Regions from separate parts of the Homo sapiens genome. Here regions 1, 2, 3 and 4 are each linked to region 5. Evidence: promoter capture Hi-C in human tissues and cell types (Jung and others, 2019). All regions are on one chromosome and are shown on one strand. Each heading gives the region's core, a stretch centred on a gene start or on the middle of the fragment in contact. The rest is flanking DNA. Distances are from core to core; before and after follow the strand shown.

Evidence for each region. The method cuts DNA at HindIII sites, captures the fragments that hold promoters and counts their contacts. A contact is called where the count stands out against the background at its distance.
Region 1: a contact is called between a fragment that was not itself captured here and the fragment with the promoter of RNF135 in region 5, in 2 of the 25 tissues and cell types used here (dorsolateral prefrontal cortex and spleen).
Region 2: a fragment that was not itself captured here is called in contact with the fragment with the promoter of RNF135 in region 5 in 1 of the 25 tissues and cell types used here (lymphoblastoid cells).
Region 3: a fragment that was not itself captured here is called in contact with the fragment with the promoter of RNF135 in region 5 in 1 of the 25 tissues and cell types used here (IMR-90 fibroblasts).
Region 4: the fragment with the promoter of EVI2A here is called in contact with the fragment with the promoter of RNF135 in region 5 in 1 of the 25 tissues and cell types used here (bladder).

Annotation. Positions count from the first base shown.
Region 1 is chr17:31,251,099-31,256,069 of GRCh38, reverse strand. It overlaps NF1 (neurofibromin 1), which reads right to left. Exons shown (of 58, transcript NM_001042492.3): 31 at 3,070-3,132. Among named protein-coding and RNA genes, the nearest start is that of OMG, 44 kb to the left of the region's middle. The HindIII fragment of the contact is 3,539 bases long and covers 1,929-4,971 here.
Region 2 is chr17:31,230,323-31,232,822 of GRCh38, reverse strand. NF1 (neurofibromin 1) reads right to left here. Exons shown (of 58, transcript NM_001042492.3): 23 at 2,441-2,500; 24 at 1,898-1,981; 25 at 634-750; 26 at 1-123. Among named protein-coding and RNA genes, the nearest start is that of OMG, 66 kb to the left of the region's middle. The HindIII fragment of the contact is 4,182 bases long and covers 1-2,500 here.
Region 3 is chr17:30,467,112-30,471,724 of GRCh38, reverse strand. It overlaps CPD (carboxypeptidase D), which reads right to left. Exons shown (of 21, transcript NM_001304.5): 21 at 1,736-4,613. Among named protein-coding and RNA genes, the nearest start is that of GOSR1, 8.0 kb to the left of the region's middle. The HindIII fragment of the contact is 7,123 bases long and covers 1-4,613 here.
Region 4 is chr17:31,320,135-31,325,150 of GRCh38, reverse strand. EVI2A (ecotropic viral integration site 2A) reads left to right here and starts at 3,529. Exons shown (of 2, transcript NM_014210.4): 1 at 3,529-3,656. All of the region lies in intron 36 of NF1 (neurofibromin 1), which reads right to left. The HindIII fragment of the contact is 10,482 bases long and covers 1-5,016 here.
Region 5 is chr17:30,967,807-30,972,783 of GRCh38, reverse strand. RNF135 (ring finger protein 135) reads right to left here and starts at 1,745. Exons shown (of 5, transcript NM_032322.4): 1 at 1,339-1,745. The coding sequence starts at 1,710. RefSeq lists enhancers at 930-1,179, 1,208-1,769, 1,870-2,119, 1,770-2,331, 2,400-2,459 and 1 more and a silencer at 1,250-1,789. The HindIII fragment of the contact is 16,210 bases long and covers 1-4,977 here.

The sequences.
Region 1 (4,971 bases), core at 2,449-4,948, 280 kb before region 5:
ATTAAAAACTGCTTTATAATTATTTTAAAATAGATTATTTTAAAAGAATTAGCATCTCATACGTTTAACTCATTAAAATTCTAAAAGTTTTTACAAAACTAAAACCCATAGTTTAATTTTCAAAGAACCAGTTAGTTTATAAAATGTTAACCTGCTGTGAAACACATGGAGAGCTTTCAAAATACTGTTTTATTTTTTATGCTAGTAAAATGAAGCACTGGGAGTGGAGAAGGAACAAGGAAATTTGTAATGGTTATCATCAATTAGACAAAATACTTCTTTGAAAGTAGCTATTTACCGGTTTTCTCTAGGACAAAGAAGTTTTAAAATGTGACTCATATTTACACCTGATTTAATGGTACTCAGCCTCAGAATTTAATGAAAAACTGAGTGATTTCCCAAAAGCATATTGTAAACTTTATGAAAAGTACTACACTTTTACCATCTTCCACATCTTTAAAAATAATTCATGTCAAAACCCAAAATATCGACACCTCAGGAACACATACTGTCTCATGTATCATATAAATATATGTATCACTGATGGCAGAATCAATATAATTTTGGAACTAAAAACTGATTTTAAAAACCAATAAAAATGCTACATAACAAGTTTCGTAAGTCAACTTATAAAAGGACTGTTTTTTTTTCATTCACCACTAATTGACATCAATGTAATTTTACCTCATAATACATACATGCTCTAGTGTTTTTTTTAATCCATAAAAATCTAATTTGGATCCAAAAGACATTCTGCATAAAAGGTCAAACTTGGGCCAGTCTGTGTGTTGAGACCAGTTATCAGCCAAATGTACCCTTTCTTCCCTTGGTAAAAGCTGACTACATAACGCGAATGCATGTAGTCATAAACTACACTTCAGCAAGAGCATTACTACCCATATATGCTTAGTTACTGCATTCTCCCTGAGTTAGGCAGACAGTTAACTTTCAAAGTAAACCTCATTATACACTATATATTTGAGAATAATAAACAGTTATTTGTAATGTGACTACACAGCTATATACTAGAAGCCAGATCTTCTCTCTATATTTTACATATTCCAATCCATGACATATACACCCAAAAAGAAAGTCAGCTTGCTCTTAAATATCATTAGGTTTTGTTAAAGCACACAACTCCATAAAACAACATTTTAAATTTATGAGTATACTGTCTTCATACTTTGGAATGTACTCTAAAATATCTCGAATTACCAATTAGATTCCCCTTGTTTCCATGAGGAGCTCGTATTACCTGTGCTGAGAAATACATTCCAAAACTTGGTGTTACCCAGAAATTAAAAAAAAATTTTTTGAAAATAACTCTAGTAGAAAAAAAAACATTTCAAGAAACAATTTTAGACATAATCTTAATAAATAAAGCAGTGTTAGAAAGGCTAGAAAACATGCTCTAGAGAAACACAGAAAGCCTGAATTTTAATTATGTGATACACTACAAAATGGCATTAGTATAACACTGAACAAGAGTGTTAGAAGCAGCAAATTAATTTCAACAATGATGGTGTACATTATGTTAAACTCACATATGCTGAGAATTAGAAGGCTGAAGCATTAGAAACGTCTTTATAATCCAATCAATTTGATCATAGCTAGGCAAATTTACTTAATATAATCAAAAATAAAATCTTCAATGGACACAACAAAAGTATATGTCTATAAATTTAAATTTTGATTTGAATTTTAAAAATCTATATTTAAAGCTTAGATAATTTATATGTACAGCTTAGAAACTTATATGTAAAGCTTTTTCGTTTTCTTTTTTTTTTTTTTTTTTTGTGAGACAGGGTCTTACTCTGTCACTCATGGTGGAGTACAGTGATACAATCACAGCTCACTGCAGCCTCAACCACCTGGGCTCAAGCAATCCTCCTGCCTCAGCCTCCCGAGTAGCTGGGACTACAGGAGTACACCACCACGCCTGGCTAATTAAAAAAAAAAAAAAATTATTTGTAGAGACGACTCGCTATGTTGCCCAAGCTGGTCTTTAACTCTTGGGCTCAAGAGATACTCCCACCTTGGTCTCCCAAAGTGCCCGGATTACAGGTATGAGCCACTGTGCCCAGCCATAAAGCTTTTATTATATGTAAAGTTTAGATAAGGCATGAAAGATGAAACCAGATGAACACTGTATTCTAAATTACACCCTTTTAAGAAAACTACCTACTTAGTTTTCTTTACATCTTACTCTACAATCATTTGGATTATATGAACAAAGACAGGGCTCAGCCTGATAAGTCACTGTGACAGATAATGGCAAATGTAAAATGAATGCATATTATATTTTGGACAAATTCCATTCACTGGAAGAAAATAATTACGACTCTCATAATTTTCTTCCTTTTAAATAAATCAAGGCAAGTTCATAGAAGCAGATAGTATATTCACATTATGTTTGCAGAATGATGTGTTTTTCTACAAATATGAACTCAGTTTTCTTTTATCTCAAAAGTACTATCTTATCATTTACCTCTTATTTTTTTGAGGTAAAAGTAGTTTTACCATTAAAATTTCTATAATCTATGCACAAATATCTAAATTATGCCTGAGACTGCCTAGATAAAAATATGAAGAGTAAAAAAATAAAATTTAGCAACTTTTAGGTAAGATTTAGAAAGTGACTCTTTCCCACCATATACTTCTAACAATTAAGAAACACTGTCATCTCTGGGAAAAGAAACCACTCACATTACCTTCAAACAAGAAGCAAGAATGAAGACAGTCAGCGTTTCCTAAGGCCTTGAAATTAAGTTTCTTTGCATTCATTTATAATTTAAAAAGTAACAATAATAAAATTAGACCAAGGATATCCAATGCAACAAATGCCCACAAATTGCCTTTGGGATAAATCAAACCAAAGGAACACAGAGAATGTTTCAATGTAACTTAATTCCAGGGTTAATTGAAATGAAAGCTATTTTGTGCCAGAATTAGTAGAATGATTTTACAGTGAAGGTCAAATAGGCTGAAGTGAAGATATTCTTAACAAACAGCAAAAGATTTTTGTTTTGCTTTGAAAGAAACAGCTAATAAAAAGTTCTCCAAACTTACTGATTTTTTGTTTTCCTTTTTTTCTTTTACTGTAGCTTTATTCAGTAGGGAGTGGCAAGTTGCCTACAGAACAGAGATGAGCACAAACAAGTCACAGCACCGACTACATACAGCAACAAAAACAATGTTGGCTTGTACATAAAATTACACCATAAAATGTAACACAAATGGAATCAACAAAAAATTAGAAATCAACTGAATTTTGAGGAATGAATTTTAATTCTGGGTTTTAATTTTTATTACATTTTTAAGCCAAGCACTAAAACAGCAAGAAATGTTGAGACCCAATCATGTCTACTATTTCTGGCTATGAATCACAGAAAAACTCTCTCCAAGTGAATTTGAGGATATTAAATATTTACATTTTGGTTAATTCCTAGCTTTTGAGAAATGTAATATAAAATATTCATTACAAGTAGATCACACACTAAAAACATTTGTGTCTACATAATTTTTTCTTGGTATGTAAAATTCTTCTCTGTGTATCCTTCAATTGACTTTAAGTTCTTTTTCCAACACCTGGCATTTAATTATGATCCTACTGAATAAAGAAATAAAAATTATATGGATAAATATAAAAATTCACTTTAGAAATTCTGAATTAAAGACCTCTCTCTCTAAAAAAGATTACTCTTAACATTTCACATATTTTTCAATGTTTGCAGGCTACTTCCTGAAATGGTTCTAATCAGAGGAGGTTAAAAGCTCTGCAACATTTGGGAGAAGAAGGTTATCAGCTCAACTAGTAAGAAGCATTAATATTATTAAAGTGAAGAAACTGCAGAGAAAATTACAGAACAAAACTGTAGGCCTGCTTAAAACTTTTCACATATTACAGTTGACCATTTATCAAAATATCTTAAAAAAAAAAAAAAAAAAAGCCACCTAAAAAACCCCCAAAACTCCAGGCACATATTGGTTTCATCTCTCAGAGCTCTTTCTAGACCAAAGATTTCTTTCAAAATTAAAAGACTCTTGATTGGACTAGCCTAGGCAGAATAATTATTTTAAAAATATTTTTAAAACCATGTTAGAATTATTTAATCCACAAATAGATGGCATCTTATTCTGGGAATTCTGGACATCCAACACCATAACCCATAACTTGGGCTTTAAGTTAGTTAGACATCCATTCATCCACCCACCCATTCATCCATCCAAAGAGTTACTGTGTACCTACAGGTCAAATACCATTCTAGGCATTGGGAAATAGCAGTAAAACAACAAGACACAGCCCCTTAGCTCACAGAGCTTTGTTTCAAACTTTAGACTATATACAAATGTATTAGTAACAGTGGTATATAACTATCATTTATAGCCTTAAAACTGTGTGTAAACTACTTCAGTTTGGAGAAGCAGATTTACTGAAAAAGGGTGAGATTTATTTAGAATCATAAATTAGTTCTTAGAATTCTCTCACCATACGAGAATATCCACTTTGGGAATCATTTTATCTTTATCCTAAAACCATCAGGAGAAGTGAAAACAACACATGAGAAAATGATTTAATTATAAATCTGACACATGTTCACAGTTGGCTATTCTTAAATAACCTTAATCCAGTCAACTAAGGAAGGAAGGTATATAAAGTAATAGAGCTGGTTAACACATGATTTGAAAAGGCTTAAAGGCCAAGATATGAACTCAAAAAAGGAGCTAAAGTCCAGGGAAGTTTATTAGCTAGCAATATACTCACTTCCCTTTCAACATTTCCCCAGTAGGTCCCAAAGGGACTACTATCCCTCCAGGCAGAACACAGAAGAGCAGGAAGGTACCTTTCTGTTACTGCCAAAGGCAAAGGGGCAAGAAAAAGCCAGAAGAGGGAAGATGAATAAAAACAAAAGAGCAAACCAAAAGAAATAAACTAGGTTTGGGAAGCAGACTCAATAAAATACTATCTTG
Region 2 (2,500 bases), core at 1-2,500, 260 kb before region 5:
ACCGTACAGTGCCTCAGTGATGCCAGCCTCCGAGACATGCCACGTTTCCTGCCACCTGTTTGCGCACTTTCATCTTCAACTTCACTGCAGTCATTCAAAAGGTTCATAAATAATGTGAAGTATCTGAGAAATAAAAAGACTGACCTTTACATAGTGAAGGCCGTATCAACTAGAAAGCTAACCAGACATTCCAAAACAATCATATGTGCATGGTGTGAATGGCCCTGGGTTAACTGTTTCTCTCCTCTCTCGCGATAATCAGCCAGGGTGGCTTATTATGAAGTGTGCTATGTTGGACATGATTTTACCTGATATAGCCTAGTATACCTTTCATAACATTAGCATCAAATAGATGCAATATTACCTGGTAAATGTGTCACTTTTAATGTTAGTATATAAAATTAGTGGTCCAAACAGCTTAGACAATGTCACTTTTGTAAATGACTTAATGAAGCAATCTGGGTTTTATTATAAGCAAAATTTCACTGATCATATTACTTTCTTTAAAAAAATCACAAAACACAGTTATTTTCCTATCCTAGTCCTGTCATGGGTATTATTTCTTTGCTTTTTTTGTGTGGTGGGGGGCTTTATTTGCTTTTTGCTTTATGTTTTTTGGTGACTGAAATTTACTTAAGAAATAACTGTGATTTGGCTTCCATCAATTCCACACCATCTCCTTCTTCAGGCTGCAGAGGGAGACCAGCTAGAAGTGAAACTACTGCTTCCATGCTTGCCTGGTCCAAATCTCTGAAAAAAAAAAAAAAAAAAAAAAAAAATTTAGAGACCATGAATCTTTCAAGTTCTTTCACTTCCCCTCAAATAAACCTCTTACTAACAGATATAAACCTTAGGAACTACCTATTTCATTAAACAAATTATTAGCACAACCCAAATAATTTGAGTTAATATGCAGATCCCAGAATACAAAATCATCTCAAATGGGGAGAAGGTAATACTTACTTTCTACAAAGTAATCTTGGCAAAATGGCTACCTTAAATCAGAAGCATGTACAATGGGCCCTCTGTATCAGTGAGTTCTATATCCATGGATTCAACCACCCATGGATTGAAAATATTTGGGGGAAAAAAAAGGAGGGTTTCATCTGTACTCAACATGTACAGATTTTTTGTTGTTGTTATTCCCTAAACAATATGGTATAACAAATATTTATACAACATTTATATTGTATTAGATATTATAAGTAATCTGAAGATAATTAAAAATATATGGGAGGATGTGTATAGTTTATATGCAAATACTATGACATCTTAAGTCAGGGACTTGAGCATCTGTGGATTTTAGTGTTCATGGGAGTAAGATGTGGGCAGGGGTTTGGGGAGTGGTTCTTGGAACCAATCCCTGACAGAGAAGACTGTATTATAAAGCTAGGCTTGGTCAAAGAAACATATGTGAATGCTTATTATACAGTCCATAGTGTTTAATCATTTTCTGATATGTGTCAATAAGTATCATTAAAGCAGACTTGATTACTTCCTTTTTTTTCTGTCTCTGGTGCTTGAATCAGGAAATCAATTATTTCTTAAAAAGATTCAACACAATGAGTTCCTCAAATAATACCTTTATCTATCTAATCATAACACAAATGCAATCTGAGGCTTTATGTATCTTATTTCCCAATAACTGTAGACTATTCTTCATAAACTGACAACACTAACTTCCCAAACATATCACTCTTTCACATTTAATTTTACTGAAAGTCTATCAGTCAAAAAAAAGCAGTAATAAAGATTAGCATCTTTACATATTTCAAACACAAAAGTTTGACATCTCAAAAGTTTAAATACACACAAAATACAAGTATAAAGCTGTAATTAAGTAGTTATAACTCTCACAGTAAAACCCACTAATACTTGAAGGTCATTCTTTTTTTACCTTGTAAGACATTTTACATCATCATCTGCTGCTTGGTTTGATGTTCCCATAACCCAGTCTGTCAGGTATTCTACCATCTTATTCCTATAGAATGGTGGAGAAAAGAGAAACAGCAAACAATGTTTTTGAAGCCACACACACACCTTTAGTCACGTAAGATTTCTTATAGTGCAAATAATTTGCCAGATAACCTAAGTGACATGACGACTTTATAAAAGAGATACTGCTATCACAGACATAAAAGCCAGAAGGGAACAAGCAACATGGATATTTATCCTCCATCATGGCCCTTAGTTATGGTATCAGATTGGAAATAGAATCAAATTCTTAGCTCAAGTATAGCACAGTTTTAGAAAAAGGGAGCATTGTCACAGGCACAAAGCTTAGGGAAATTTGAGAAGAGATGTAGAGAAAAACAAACATGTAAATTGCTCTCTTTTCATGTCCTCCTTTCTACCAATAACCGCATATCTACTCTTTTTCTGTACTTCATTGGACATATTAAGATTTACAAGACCCTACATTGCTCTTTTGAGAACTCACCTAAATTTCATCTCTTGGCAAAATGAGAGGTCATCTCTCCTTGCCATCATTACTTCAACT
Region 3 (4,613 bases), core at 1,301-3,800, 500 kb after region 5:
AACCTGTATAAAAGTTTTTCTGCTCTTCTTTTACTTGTGAAAAATTGTGAGGTCTGCTCCAACTCTAGGAGGGACACACCTTCCACTAGAGATTTCAATTGAACTTGGTCACCTAGAAGCAGAGCCACATGGCTTGACACCTGGAGTACCCAAACTGTGCATGGCTGCCTAGATTCTAGACATCCTATTTCCTATGCCCAGGCCCTCTTTCCAATGTGTTCCATTCACGTTCTGCTAAATAGAAAACTGTGTATAATCCTTCCTCTTTTGTCCTCCCAACACTCACATCTTCCAAATCAAAACCCAGGAGTCAACTCTGTATGATCTCTGCAACTTTTCTATAAATCTAAAATTATTACTTTTAAAAATATAGCAGTCCTGTCAGTCATTACTGTAACTTGCCCAGTCCCTTTCTGTTCCATTCCCTCTCAATAGCATCAATGCTTTTGACTGTAGATCAAAAGCCTGTTTAGTCTTGAAAAACTCTGCTAGGAACCATATGTACATAAATAAATAATAAATAACAATAATAAATACTGGAATAACCTCAAATATTTGAAATTAGCAATCTAGACTTTCTCCATTACTCCTTCACTTTGGCTCCACCTCAATGGCAATCACAGAATATAATCCATGTTATCATAGCAATTTCTATTTAATCTGCACTCTATTTCCTCCGTGTTCCGTCTTAAGTTTCTCCACTTGCTGATTTTCCACCTACAGTTTTGACTTGATCACTGCCTCTTCATATTGCTGAATTTGAAATATCCATCTCAGTATACTCCCACTTCCAATTACCATACCTTCAATCTTATCAAGTAATTCTCACCCTTTTTTCCTCAGTCTTCTAGGCTGGCCTCTAAACTTCAACACCTTACTACTCCATATAGGCCATCCTGTCTCATTCGTGCTTACCTTGTCTACATTTGTTTACACAGTAATTAGGGAAGAGGATTATTTGACCTCAACTAAAATGCCAAAGAAATAGCATGTTTACTTTTAATATTCTACTAATGTAGGTGAAAATTGTGATATTAAAGTTAAAATTGGGCCGGGCGCAGTGGCTCACGCCTGTAATCCCAGCACTTTGGGAGGCCAAGGTGGGAGGATCACTTGAGGTCAGAAGTTCCAGACCAGCCTGGCCAACATGGCGAAACCCTGTCTCTACTAAAAACACAAAAATTAGCTGGGCGTGATGGCGCATGCCTGTAATTCCAGCTACTTGGGAGGCTGAGGCAGGAGAATTGCGTGAACCCGGGAGCCAGAGGTTGCAGTGAGCCGAGATCGTGCCACTGCACTCCAGCCTGGGAGACAGAGTGAGACTCTGTCTCAAAAAAAAAAAAAAAAAAAAAATATATATATATATATATACATATATATGTATGTATATGTATATACATGCATACATATGTATGTGTATACATATACATACACACGTATGTATGTATATACATATACATACACACACGTATGTACATACATACACGTGTATATGTACATACATATACACGTGTGTATGTATGTACATATACATACATATATATATATAGAGAGAGAGAAAGGTAAAATTGGGCTTTATCTACTGATTTTATTGCTTTAAAGTTGTGTGTAATAATTAATGGTGTATTTATCTGAGGTTTGCAATAAATAGCATAGAACCAGTTGGTATTCTAACTATAAGTGAGTCTAAGACATGAAGACCCACACAATGGCACTTATTCATAATTGAGTAGTATTAGCGTTGACCATCATGTTTAATTTGCTGAGAACAATCAGCTATTATAAATCTGAAAAGCTGAACATAATAACTAGATTACTGTTTATGAAACAAACCAAAAGGGTTCTTGATTCAGGTATGAGAAAACTAAGAAAATTCAGGAAAATATTTCAAACACTGAGAGAAAAAGAACTGTTATCACTATTCACACTTCCTGTAGCAGTTAAGTAACGTTGTTTTCACTAAAGAAGCATAAATACAACTTAATTTCATTTAAAAACAAATATGAAGCATCTTGGCATAATTAAAACTTTACTGCCATGCTTTAGACAATCTATTGAACCACATAATAAAAAATTTCTTTTTTTATTTGTGTCTCAGAATTTCTTCTAAATTAAAAAGATCACCTATAAACAGATCTTTATTTATACATTTGATAAAGTAACTTTCTTTCAAAGGCATAAGAAGACATCACATGAAGGAAAATGATGCTGGTTACCATGGGCATTCAATTCCAAGTCAAATATTATGTTGGGACCTTTGCTAACATTATTTCATTTAATTTTCCACTGCAATCCTATCAAGGATTATTCAACCAGTAGAGAAACTGAGGCTCAGAGAATGTCAAGAAACTTGTACAAGGTCACATTGGAAGCAAGTAGCAGAACGAAGAATCAGTCACAGATTGGTCCAACTCCAAAGTCCATGCTCAAACCTCTATGCTTTATTTCCTTTACAGCAGAGACTTTTAGATGAACCAATCACTATTGAAATATAACCTATTTCCATTTATATTTCTCTGGTCTGGACTATGAGTACTTTATCAGCAGAGTCTGTTTCTCATACAACTTTGCTTTCCCAATTCCTATTAGGGTAGAAGTAACACATTGTTGCTAAGTGAAAAGGGGATATTGAATTCATCCTTGCTGTGCCTAAAAGTGCCGGGACACATTATTCTAACTGGGCCTCACCTGGAAAAAGGACCAAATTTTTAACGAACAAGTTTAAAATGCGTACATAAAAACCTTTCAATGACCAGTTTTGTGTTGTTATTGTGAAATGATTGAACATATATAACAATCTAGCTGAGCTACAAACAGAAAACTGTGGCTACTACATAATGCGATTTCAGAAACAAAGCTTTCTTTTGAGTCAATTCATAAATACAGAAACATTCCATAGGTGATACCCTGTATTCTGATCCTGGTACTATTTTTCCACTAGCATAGGCAGAAAAACTAAATAATTTTCAAACTGGACCTATAACTTTTTCCGGCATATTGCATCTGAAAAAAGATTATGAGACAAAACACAAAGAAAGACAAACATCGTAAAATAACTTTTATACAGGATTAGTAGATCTGTTTACATATAAAAAACAGAAAGGACCTCATTACAGTTAGATTTCACATAAATTACAAATTGACTTTTAAAAACTACTATTCAACTTCATTTAAAGTCCCTTTTAAAAATTTCATTTTGAAGGCACAGTGCATGAAATAAACCAAAGACTGAAGCACTTGAGATGAATGGGTGTTGGGCACCTCACATAAACAGCTGTAGATTGCTCTAGAACTGGGAGTATCACTTGGAAAAACTGGAGAGGTGAAAAGCTGATTTTTAATCTGAGCATAAAAAAATACTATTGTCATACCTCCAGAAAATCTGTAGCATGGCCAGCATAGAAGGTAGTTAGTACACTCATGTTATGCCATTTATAAAAATCATAATCATACATATTTACATAATTTATATCCAACTGCCTCAAAATGGTAACCTACTTTCAAATTTCATAATGTATGCTGTCAAATCAAAATCAACCAGGACAATATTCTGAAAATCAAGTGGAATCATTAACGAATTATTGCTAAAAATAGGATAAATGGGTATTGGGAGAGATTTCTTCATGAACTAGAAATCCAAGTTCAGCTGACATTAATCAAAGACCCAAATCATATCCCCAAAATTTTAGCTAAAACAAATCAGAAACCCAAAGAGTTACCAAAAAAGTTGCTATAGAAAATCACTGAACATCAATCATAGTGGAATTTTTGGTAATAACAATAAAACAAAAATATATTGGAAATCCTGGGTTGTCACTGTTAAAACAATTCCACCAGAAAACCATAATGTAGGGCACTATTACAGAATTCATTGCCAAGAAGCTTTTCATACAGCAGGGACAATACCTGGCACAAGTGCATTTCTGGCAACAACAAGATAAAACTATTTAATGTTGAGAATAAATGGAAATGGAGGAGCAGGTCATGGTTACTGAGTAACCTGGTGTTAGCTCAAACACAATAAGCTCAGACATAAACACTACCTTTTATTTATTTGTCAACTCATAATTAGTTTTAAATTCAATAGTCATTAATTCAGCAAATCCCATTCAAGTAAAAGTTACCAAAGATAAAGCAATCAATCACACTGGGCCAAATATACAATATGTTTCCTTTCTGGAAGATGACAAAGTCCCAAAGCAAATCCCTTCAATGAGCATTGCAAGCATTCCTCAACTGGATAGGATCCCACTCACTACCCAAGTGTTCAGCAAAATGCATCAAAACTGAAGGGTCTTTCTTTCTGAAATGACTTGGGCACATCTTACTGAACTACATAATCAATACAAGTACATGTACACAGGCAGACACTTTGAACATTACCTACTCAATCACTTTGCTTTTATTAAGGAGCTGGGAAGGAAGAAGGCTTACAAACTGATCACCAGGACAAAGCCCATGCCTTGTGAGTAAAGAAAGGCACAACTCAGATTTAGGCAAATTTCTTAATACTATGATACTTACTTGCCGCCATAACTCCAAGGAAATGGAAAGTCTCTCGGAGAAACACTGAAGAAATGCATTCCCCATCCCATATGGCTTCAATGCCTTAA
Region 4 (5,016 bases), core at 2,280-4,779, 350 kb before region 5:
TATCCCAGGACTGCTCAGTTACATAAGCCAATAAATACCATTTTTTGATTAAGCCATATTAGGTCATATGTTGCTTAAAACCAAAAGAATACTAATAAATGGGAGCAGCCACAGTGAGGACCATGAAAAAGCCCTGAAGTAATGGTACCAAAGTTTCAAATCAAAACAATCTATGTTAACTTAGGCCCAAAGTTTTCCATATGTGATGATTCTGGTGATAATACTACTAAGTAAGTTAAAATAAATCTTTACCTCAGAGGTTGGTTAATGGATATAAAAATATAATCAGGGCTGGGCACAGTGGCTCACGCCTGTATTCCCAGCACTCTGGGAGGCTGAGGCAGGTGGGTTACATAAGGCCAGGAGTTCGAGACCAGCCTGGCCAACATGGCAAAACGCTGTCTCTACTAAAAATACAAAAATCAGCCAGGCATGGTGGTACATGTCTGTAATCCCAGCTACTTGGGAGGCTGAGGCACGAGAATCACTTGGACCTGGGAGGCAGAGGCTGCAGCGAGCTGAGATTGTACCACTGCACTTCAGCCTGGGCAACAGTGAGACTGTCTTAAAAAAATAATAATAAAATAAATAATATATGTATTGTTAGAATTAGATAGAAGGAACAAGTTCTACTATTCATAGTAAGGTGACTAGTTAATAATAACATTGTATATTTCAAAACAGCTAGACGAAACAATTTCTTTTCTTTGAGGCAATGGATATCCTAATCACCCTGATTTAATCATTACACATTATATGCATGTATCAAAATATCACACATACAGGCAGGGCATGGTGGCTCACGCCTGCAATCCCAGCACTTTGGGAGGCCAAGACGGGCAGATCACCTGAGGTCAGGAGGTCAAGACTAGCCTGGCCAACAGGGTGAAACCCTGTCTCTACTAAAAATACAAAAATTAGCTGGGCGTGGTGGCACGTGCCTGTAGCCCCAGCTACTTGGGAGGCTGAGGCAGGAGAATTGCTTGAACCTGGGAGGGGAGTTTGCAGTGAGCTGAGATTGTGCCACTGCACTCCAGCCTGGGCGATAGAGCGAGATTCCAACAAAAACAAAAACAAAAAAAACCAAAAAAATCACACATACTCCATTAATATGTACAAATTATCATGTATCAATAAAAAACTTCACCTCAGAATTTTTAATCTTGTTGGGAGAAAATAAGATAAAAATATGACAAGTCAAATGATTTTAAAACAACACAAATATTTCAAGATAGAAGATATGAGGTAGAAAGTAATCACTTATCAAAGGAAATGCAGAGAAAATACTGTTATTAAGACAAAGGAGAGAGAGAGAGAGATTAACACAAACTGGGCAGTCAGTGAAAGCTACATAGAAGATACAGTGGCTGAATCAGGTAAGGAGGAATGCAGACTCAGCAAGAGGACTGGGCAGGCCTTATGGAGAAAGGCAAAAAGGAAAAGAAACAGGTAACTAGATGTGTTGAAGAGACAGCTAGTCTAGCCAGAATGGAGGATTCAGGTAGAGAAGTTTTGAGAGATAAAGCTGGGAAAATACAGAATAGTCAAATTGTGGAGAGACCATAACTGCCCAACCAAAGGGCTTAGGTTTTCTACTAGGGGCTCACCATTTCTCAGCATATGTTCTGTGGACTACTGGCGTCAGAATCAACTGTGGTGCTTGATAAAAATGCAGTTTCCTGGTCCCAACCTGGACCTACTAAATATGGATCTATGTAGTGGGGCCTGGAAATTTTTATCTTTTTTTTTTTTCCCTTAACTCAGGCTGGACTGCAGTGGCACGGTCACAGCTCACTGTAGCCTTGACCTCCCCAGGCTCAGGTGATCCTCCCACCTCAGCCTCCTGAGTAGCTGGGACTACAGATAAGCGCCACCATGCCCGGCTAGTTTTTTGTTTTTGTTTTTTTGTATTTTTTGTAGAGACAGGATTTTGCCATGCTGCCCAGGCTGGTCTCGAATTTCTGTGGCTCAAGTAATCCTCCCGCCTCAGCCTCCCAAAGTGCTGAGATTACAGGTGTGAGCCACCATGTCCTGCTTTTATAATTTTTAAACAATCTTCTCATCTGATGTTTATGTACACAAACATTTCTGAATCATTGTTGTATGTATTAGGGAACTGTTCAACCGGTTTTATTTTCCCTTAAAGAAAGGGTGGTATGACCAAAGACAGTGATGTATACAAGATATAAGAAGGATTCAGGGCTACCGAAAAGGCACTGTAGAGTCTAGGTATGACCTGATAAGGATCTAAAATAGTACTGTTGACAGTAAAAACAGGGAAAAAGAAACTGATCCAACAATATGAAGGAAGGACCAACATGATTCAAAGTCTGATCAGGACTGAGAGGACTTAAATTAAAATGATGTGTTGTATACTAAGCCTCTGATATTAGAATGTTGCTATCATGAACAGAAACAAGAAGACTGTCACAGGCAGCCTCCTTTAAAGAAAAAATAAAGTTCTTTTTATTTCATTAATTTAATTAATTTTTAAGAGATGGAGTCTTGCTATGTTACCCAGGCTGGATTTGAACTCCTGGGCTCCACCAGTGATCCTCCTACCTCAACCTACCTAGTAGCTGGGATTACAGATATGTGCTGCCATATCCAGTTCTTTTTTTTTTTTTTTTTTTTTTTTTTTTTTTTTTTGAGACAGAGTCTTACTCTGTCTTCCTGGCTGGAGTGCAGTGGCATGATCTTAGCTCATGCAGCCAAGATCTCATGATCTCTGCAGCCTCCACGTCCCGGGTTCAAGCTATTCTCCTGTCTCAGCCTCCCAAGTAGGTGGGACTACAGGTGCATGCTACCCTGCCTGGTTAATTTTTATATTTTTAGTAGAGACAGGTTTTCTCTATGTTGGCCAGGCTGGTCTTGAACTCCTGGCCTCAAGTGATCTGCCTGCGTCAACCCTCCCAACGTGCTGGGATTACAGGTGTGAGCCACCGTGTTCAGCCCATACCTAGTTCTTAAAGTCTGTTTCAGTCATGTTAAACTTGAGGTGATGACAGGATGTTTGACAGTTGTGTGTGTGTGTGTGTGTGTGTGTGTGTGTGTGTATACACACACTACACCACACGAAAGCATTTTCTGTCCCATATAATCTAAGTTTACTAGATATTTTCTCAAATAATTGCTGCAGTTCCACAATTGTTACATTATCTGATCAGTATCCCATGGACTCCAAACTCACATTTTCAAATCAGTCTGTAGATTTCAAATAAGTCTTTTAGAGAAGATTTGAAATGGAAGATACCATTTCAAAACCTCTTTTGAATGACACTAAAGCATGTAGCAGGCCTATAGAATGAGCATACTGTCAAAAGGCATTAAGTGGAAAACCCTCCCTGCTCTGGAGGCGGGGATTGGTTCTACAAAGCCTCCTGTCATGCCAGTGGCCAACTAGAGAAGTTGGAGCTTTTTCGTTGTTTTTTTTTTTTTCCCTCCTGTGACATGTGCTTTAGTTGCAGTGGAAAGGAAATGTGTCATCTGTGGTTTGGTTTTAAAAGTGGAAAACTAGCTGCACATATCCTTTTTTACTGCAGATTTACTTTAAGGCTCATATTCTCCAAGTCTATTCTGCTTTAAAAAGAAGACAAGAAAAGAAGTGGTTTATCAAAATCACGTTATAATCAGATTTTGACCAAGCATTTTGTAAGGTAGGTCATATATATACGGCTTTTCTTATGCCTTTTCACTTCTAACGTCTGACAGATTAGTGTTCGAGGAAATGCTATCAAAGTGTGTAAGAATCTCACTAACAAACTAGAATTGTGACTGAAAATGTATACTTTTTTTTTCTGTCCTGTTACATAAATTTTAAGTTAGAAATGAAAAAATTTGCCATCGCCATGGAGTTTTAAATTAGGATTACGAAGGATCTAAGTTTGGTTTCCTCAAGTAAACTGGAAATGTTTTGTTATTTTTCAAAAGTTAAAAAATAAATTTCTCATTACTAATGCTTGGACATTACAAATTCTACTGAAAATAAATTCTACTGAAAATGATCAGATATAAGAAAACTTCTGATAACACAACCTGGCCTCCAAGGCATAAACTGGAGTAAAAACAGTCCTCAATTCTCAGGCATTTGTAAGGGCAAGAGAAAGTCTCATTTTGTCATACAGTTTGTTTATTTGGGCACTGCAGTACATCTGGCTGAAGACAATCAACAGCAGGCCTATTATCTGTTCCGTGGTAAGCACTGTTAAAATGTGTACCAATACTATGATGTATACTACACTGTTAATGAACTAATGTGAAAAGAATAATCTACTTTAAATCATTCTAGCATCTAATACAGAAGTCCAGTCTAGTATAAAAAGATGGAAATTACTTGCTAATCCAATTTCAAGTATTTCTTTTTGTGGAAGAATCATGAAATATCCAAAGATTTATGTCACTAAACTTAAAAATTAAAGCTGAACACTATTATACAAAAGCCAGTGACTTGGGCCTTTAATTGTCTACTAAAGGTCATAATCTAAAAAGTAATCTTAATCCTGGAATATTTAATAGTTTTTCCTCCCTACTATTAATATGAAATATAGTCTCCAGTTAGCATTGTTTATTACATGCTACTTTTGTTTGCATAACTCAACGTATCACATTTCTTATTTTCAATTTCTGTATTTTAATAGTATACAAATGTCAGCCAATGACATATAACAACCATTTCTTATAAAACCTTGATGTTCAAAAGCCTGACTAGCAGTGGCATCCATGTTGCTTAGGAGTTGGTTTGGAAACAAAGACTTTCAGGCCCTACCTATACTAGCTAGGTAAGAATCTGCCTTTTTTTTTTTTTTTTAAATAAAAGGACTCCTAAGTACATTTGAGAAGAATTTCTATAGCATACGTAGGGTTCTTAACCAGGCAATTTCATTTAGTAAATCTCAGGAGAACAATATAGTTTTGCTTTTAGTTCATTCAAATAAATGCTAACAATAAAATACTCCTTTCAAAAGTAGCTCAAGACAAACTGGTATATTATTATAAGATACCTTAATAATGATTATA
Region 5 (4,977 bases), core at 496-2,995:
AACAAAAAAAATGTGGCACATCCACCCAATGGAATATCATTCAGCCCCATAAAAGGAATAAAGTTCTGACACATGCTACAACATGAATGAACTTTGAAAACACTATGCTAAGTGAAAGAAACCAGGCACAAAGGGACAAACATTGAACGATTCCAGTTATATGAAATATCTAGAACAGGCAAACTCAGATACAGAAAGTAGCTTAGATGTGAGCAGGGGCTAGAGGGAGGAGAAATGAGGAGTTACTGCTTAATGAGTACAAAGTTTCTGTTTATGATGATGAAACAGTTTTGGAAACAGAAGTGATAGTTGCACAACAGGAAATGTAACTAATTTGTCACTGAATTGTACACTTAAAAATGGTTAAAATAGGCGGGGCGCGGTGGCTCACACCTGTAATCCCAGCACTTTAGGAAGCCGAGGCGGGCAGATCACGAGGTCAGAAGATCGAGACCATCCTGGCTAACAACGGTGAAACCCCGTCCCTATTTTTTAAAAAAAGAAAAAAACATACAAAAAATTAGCCAGGCGTGGTGGCGGGCGCCTGTAGTCCCAGTTACTCGGGAGGCTGAGGCAGGAGAATGGCGTGAACCCGGGAGGCGGAGCTTGCAGTGAGACAAGATGGCGCCACTGCACTCCAGCCTGGGCCACAAAGCAAAACTCCGTCTCAAAAAAATAAAAGGTTAAAATGAGGCCAGGCGCTGTGGCTCATGACTGTAATCCCAGCACTTTGGGAGGCCGAGGCGGACGGATCATCTGTGGTCAAGAGTTTGAGACTAGCCTGGCTAACATGTCGAAACCCCGTCTCTACTAAAAATACCAAAATTAGCCGGGCGTGATGGCGCACGCCTGTAATCCCAGCTACTCTCGAGCCTGAAGCAAGAGAATCACTCGACCCTGGGGGGCGGAGGTTGCAGTGAGCCGAGATCACGCACGCCATTGCACTCCATCCAGCCTGGGCGACAGAGCGAGACTCCGTCTCAAAGAAATAAAGAAAAAGGTTAAAATGGCCAGTTTTAATGTTATATAGATCTTACCACAATTTTACAAGTTTCAGAGAAAGAGACCGAAGATCGATTGGGAAGAAGTTGAAATATGCCAAGCTGTGTAACAGCTAAGTTGACAAGCTTTCGGAAGATGGGGAATTTGTTTTTTTCTACTTCTTCATACTTTTATGAACTTTCCAAAGTGCCTCCGAAGAGCGGAACTCGACTTTTAGACTGAGAAAAGGAACGTAAAAGTAGAACGGCTGAGGAAAGGGGTTCGAGCCACATGGGAAAGGGTCAGGCGGCGGGCAGCCCGGGGGAGCCAGGGGAGCTGCGGGCCCGGCCTCCCTACCCGCTGCAGTTCCGGGCGGCGCCGGGGCCTCGCGGCCGCGCTGGAGAGGGAACTGGAGCCCGGGCAGGGGCAGTGGGCAGGGTCGGAGCCCGCCTGTATCTCGCGTGCGGCGCGGCGGTACTTGTCGGCCAGGTCCTGCAGTAGCGTGTTCTTCCGCAGGTGCGGCTGCTGCGCGGCGCCCTGGCGGCAAGTGGGGCAGGCCCAGCGGCGGGCGTCGCGGGCGCCCCACAGGGCCTCCAGGCAGTGGCGGCAGAAGCTGTGGCCGCAGGGCAGCGTGGCGGGCCAGTCCAGCAGCCCCTGGCAGATGATGCAGCCGAGGTCGTCCTCGGCCAGCCACACGGGAACGGCGGAGCCCAGGCCCAGGCCCGCCATGGCCAACAGGCGGCCGGGGCGCGGACGTCGGGGTTGAGCCGGGCGAGTCTCCTCAGGCTCCTCCCTCGCCCTTCCTCTTCCCCTTGCCCTCCTCCTTTTCTCGGCCGCCTTTTCTCCTCCTTCCTTGGCGCCACCCCGTCTCCTTCCTCCGATCCTGCTGAAAACAGACTTAGAGCCTCCAGTGCCCAGCTGGAAAGACAGAGCTGACCTTCAGTGGCGGCCTCTTGCCCTGGGAAACCAACATGCCGCGAGCTGCTAGAAACCCGCGGAGGTCTCCAAGATTCCCTTTAGCTGGATGTCCCTCCATTAAGATGCAGCACCGTTGGATGTCTTCGTCCGTTGGCTTAAAAAAAAATAAACAACAAAAAAGATGCAACACCGACAACTCTTGGGAGGAGAGGACTCCATTCAGCAGCTTATTTATGAGAATGAGCCCACGAAGTGTCATCCAGCTCCTCTAACAAGTAGCAGGGGATTAAAGATCACCGATGCACAGCCACAGGGAGCGTCCTCAAAAATGCTGATGTTCGGCCCCGCTCGCAGGGAGTCTGATTTCATTGTCTTGGGTGGAGCACGGGTATTTTGTAAAACCTCCCCCAGGTGATTCTGACGCGCATTCAAGGTTGAGTGAGCGAACCCTTGGCTTTTTAACTCGCAGGTATAATGCAGAGTTGTGCGCTGTGTCCTTACCGCCTTCTGCGGGATGTAAGCGCGTTTCCCAACAGACACTCGGACAAAATTCTAGAAAGTGTTTTCCTGAGAAGGCTCACTCACTCACTCACTTCGCATCCCAGTCCTAAACGCATTGCAACCAGAAAATGTTAGAGCTAAAAGAGCACCACGTCCTCCCAGATGACCCAAAGAGGTTAAAAAAAAAAAAAAGAGAAAAAAGAAAAACTTGCAGGCTCTCATGGTAACAATGAAGCGTCAGAGACTAAAACCCACAACTCCCCAATCTGTTGAAATGAACTAACAACGTCTCATGCTTTACTTTATCCTTTCTGGCCTGGGCTCAAAGTAGGTATCAGATAATACAAGTTTGTAGCCGACCTTTGGATCACTTGAAGTCAGGAGTTCAAGACCAGCCTGGCCAACATGGTGAACCCTCATCTCTACTGAAAATACAAAAAGAAAAGAAAAGAAAAGCCAGGCGCCCTGGCGCATGCCTGTAATCCCAGCTACTTGGGAGGCTGAGGCAGGAGAATCTCTTGAACCCGGGAGGCGGAGGTTTCAGTGAGCCAAGACTGCGCCACTGCACTCCAGCCTGGGCGACATAGGGAGACTCCGTCTCAAAAAAAAAAAAAAAAAAAAAAAGAAAAAAAAGAAAGAAAAGAAAGAAAAAAAAGCGTTTGTGGTTATTTCTAATACTGGAAGTGTCATGGAGTAGGCAGCGCTGCTCATCAACGTTTCCAGTGCTTTCCCTTTCTGGGCACATGGTAGGACTGGCACTTCCCTGACCCACTTGAAACACACAGAGGTAATATGTTACTTCCCACCAGCTTTAAAGGCGACTGAGCCGGCCATTGTATCCCTTTCTGCCAGCTGCCCCAATTATGGAGATGAAACCATCATCCGGTGACCTGGGTCACTGAGTGGCTAAGATGAGCAGACTCCCTGCCAACGCACCCTAGGATACGTAGTAAGAGGGAGAAGAAAACTAGGATGTATTCAGCTTACTGAGATTTAGTGGGTGTGTGCTGCTACAGCATAACCTAGCCTATCCTGACTGATGTATTACCTGGATCTTGTTCTAGAATCTCCGCATCGGAGTAAAATCGTAGTTTCTAAGAGCCTCTTTTTTTCTGTAAAACGGGCATGATACTAAACACTTAAACATGCTCAGATCTTCCAACTTAAAAAATGAAATCACTGGCGGGGCGTGGTGGCTTATGCCTGTAATCTCAGCACTTTGGGAGGCTGAGGCAGGTGGATTGCCTGAACTCAGGAGTTCGAGACCTGCCTGAGCAACATGGTGAAACCTTGCCTCTACAAAAAAAATACAAAAACTACCTAGACATGGTAGCGCAGGCCTGTGATCCCAGCTACTCAGGAGACTGAGGTGGGAGGATTGCTTGAGCCAGGGAGGTGGAGGCTGTAATGAGCCATGAGATCTCAGGAGGTCAAGACTGTGGTTAGCTGTGATCACACCACTTCACTCCAGCCTGGGGAAGGAGCTAGACCTAGTCTCAAAAAAATTAAAAATTAAAAAATAAAATAAAATCACCTTTGACCTGAGCCTCCCTGGAACCAGCTCTCCTCTTCTCCATTTCACAGCCAAGTTTCTGGAAAGAGTGAGTTAACCAGTAGTTTTCAAACTTTTTTCTTGGACACGCCCTAAAAGTTTTATGCAAAATCATGCAGTGGTTATAAGAAAGGGGGAAGTGGGGGCCGGGCGCAGTGGCTCACGCCTGTAATCCCAGCACTTTGGGAGGCTGAGGCGGGCGGATCATGAGGTCAGGAGATTGAGACCATTCTGGCTAACACGGTGAAACCCCGTCTCTACTAAAAAATACAAAAAAAATTAGCCGGGCGTGACGGCGGGAGCCTGTAGTCCCAGCTACTCAGGAGGCTGAGGGAGGAGAATGACCTGAACCCAGGAGGCGGAGCTTGCAGTGAGCTGAGTTCGCACCACTGCACTCCAGCCTGGGCGACAGAGCAAGACTCTGTCTCAAAAGAAAAAAAAAAAAGAAAGAAAGAAAGGGGGAAGGGGGAGAGTGGTCAGCTCTGGTAGTAAAAATATATTAGCAAATTCTTCATTTATATCAGATTTTTTTTTTTTTTGAGATGGAGTCTCACTTTGTTGCCCAGGCTGGAGTGGAGTGGAGTGGCACAATCTCGTCTCACTGCAACCTCCACCTCCCGGGTTCAAACCATTCTCCTGCCTCAGCCTCCGGAGTAGCTGAGATTACAGGCGCTCGCCACCATGCCCGGCTAATTTTGTATTTTTAGTAGAGATGGGGTTTCCCCATGTTGACAGGGTTTCTCCATGTTGGCCAGGCTTGTCTCGAACTCCTGACCTCAGGTGATCCGCCCACCTCATCCTCCCAAGTGCTAGGATTACAGAGGTGAGCCACCGCGCTCAGCCTACATCAGACATTTTGTCATTCTTGGCCGAGTGCGGTGGCTCATGCCTGTAATCCCAGGACTTTGGGAGGCCGAGGCAGGCGGATCATGAGGTCAGGAGTTCGAAAAATACAAAAAAAAATTAGCTGGGCGTAGTTGCAGGCACCTGTAATCCCAGCTACTCAGGAGGCTGAGGCAAGAGAA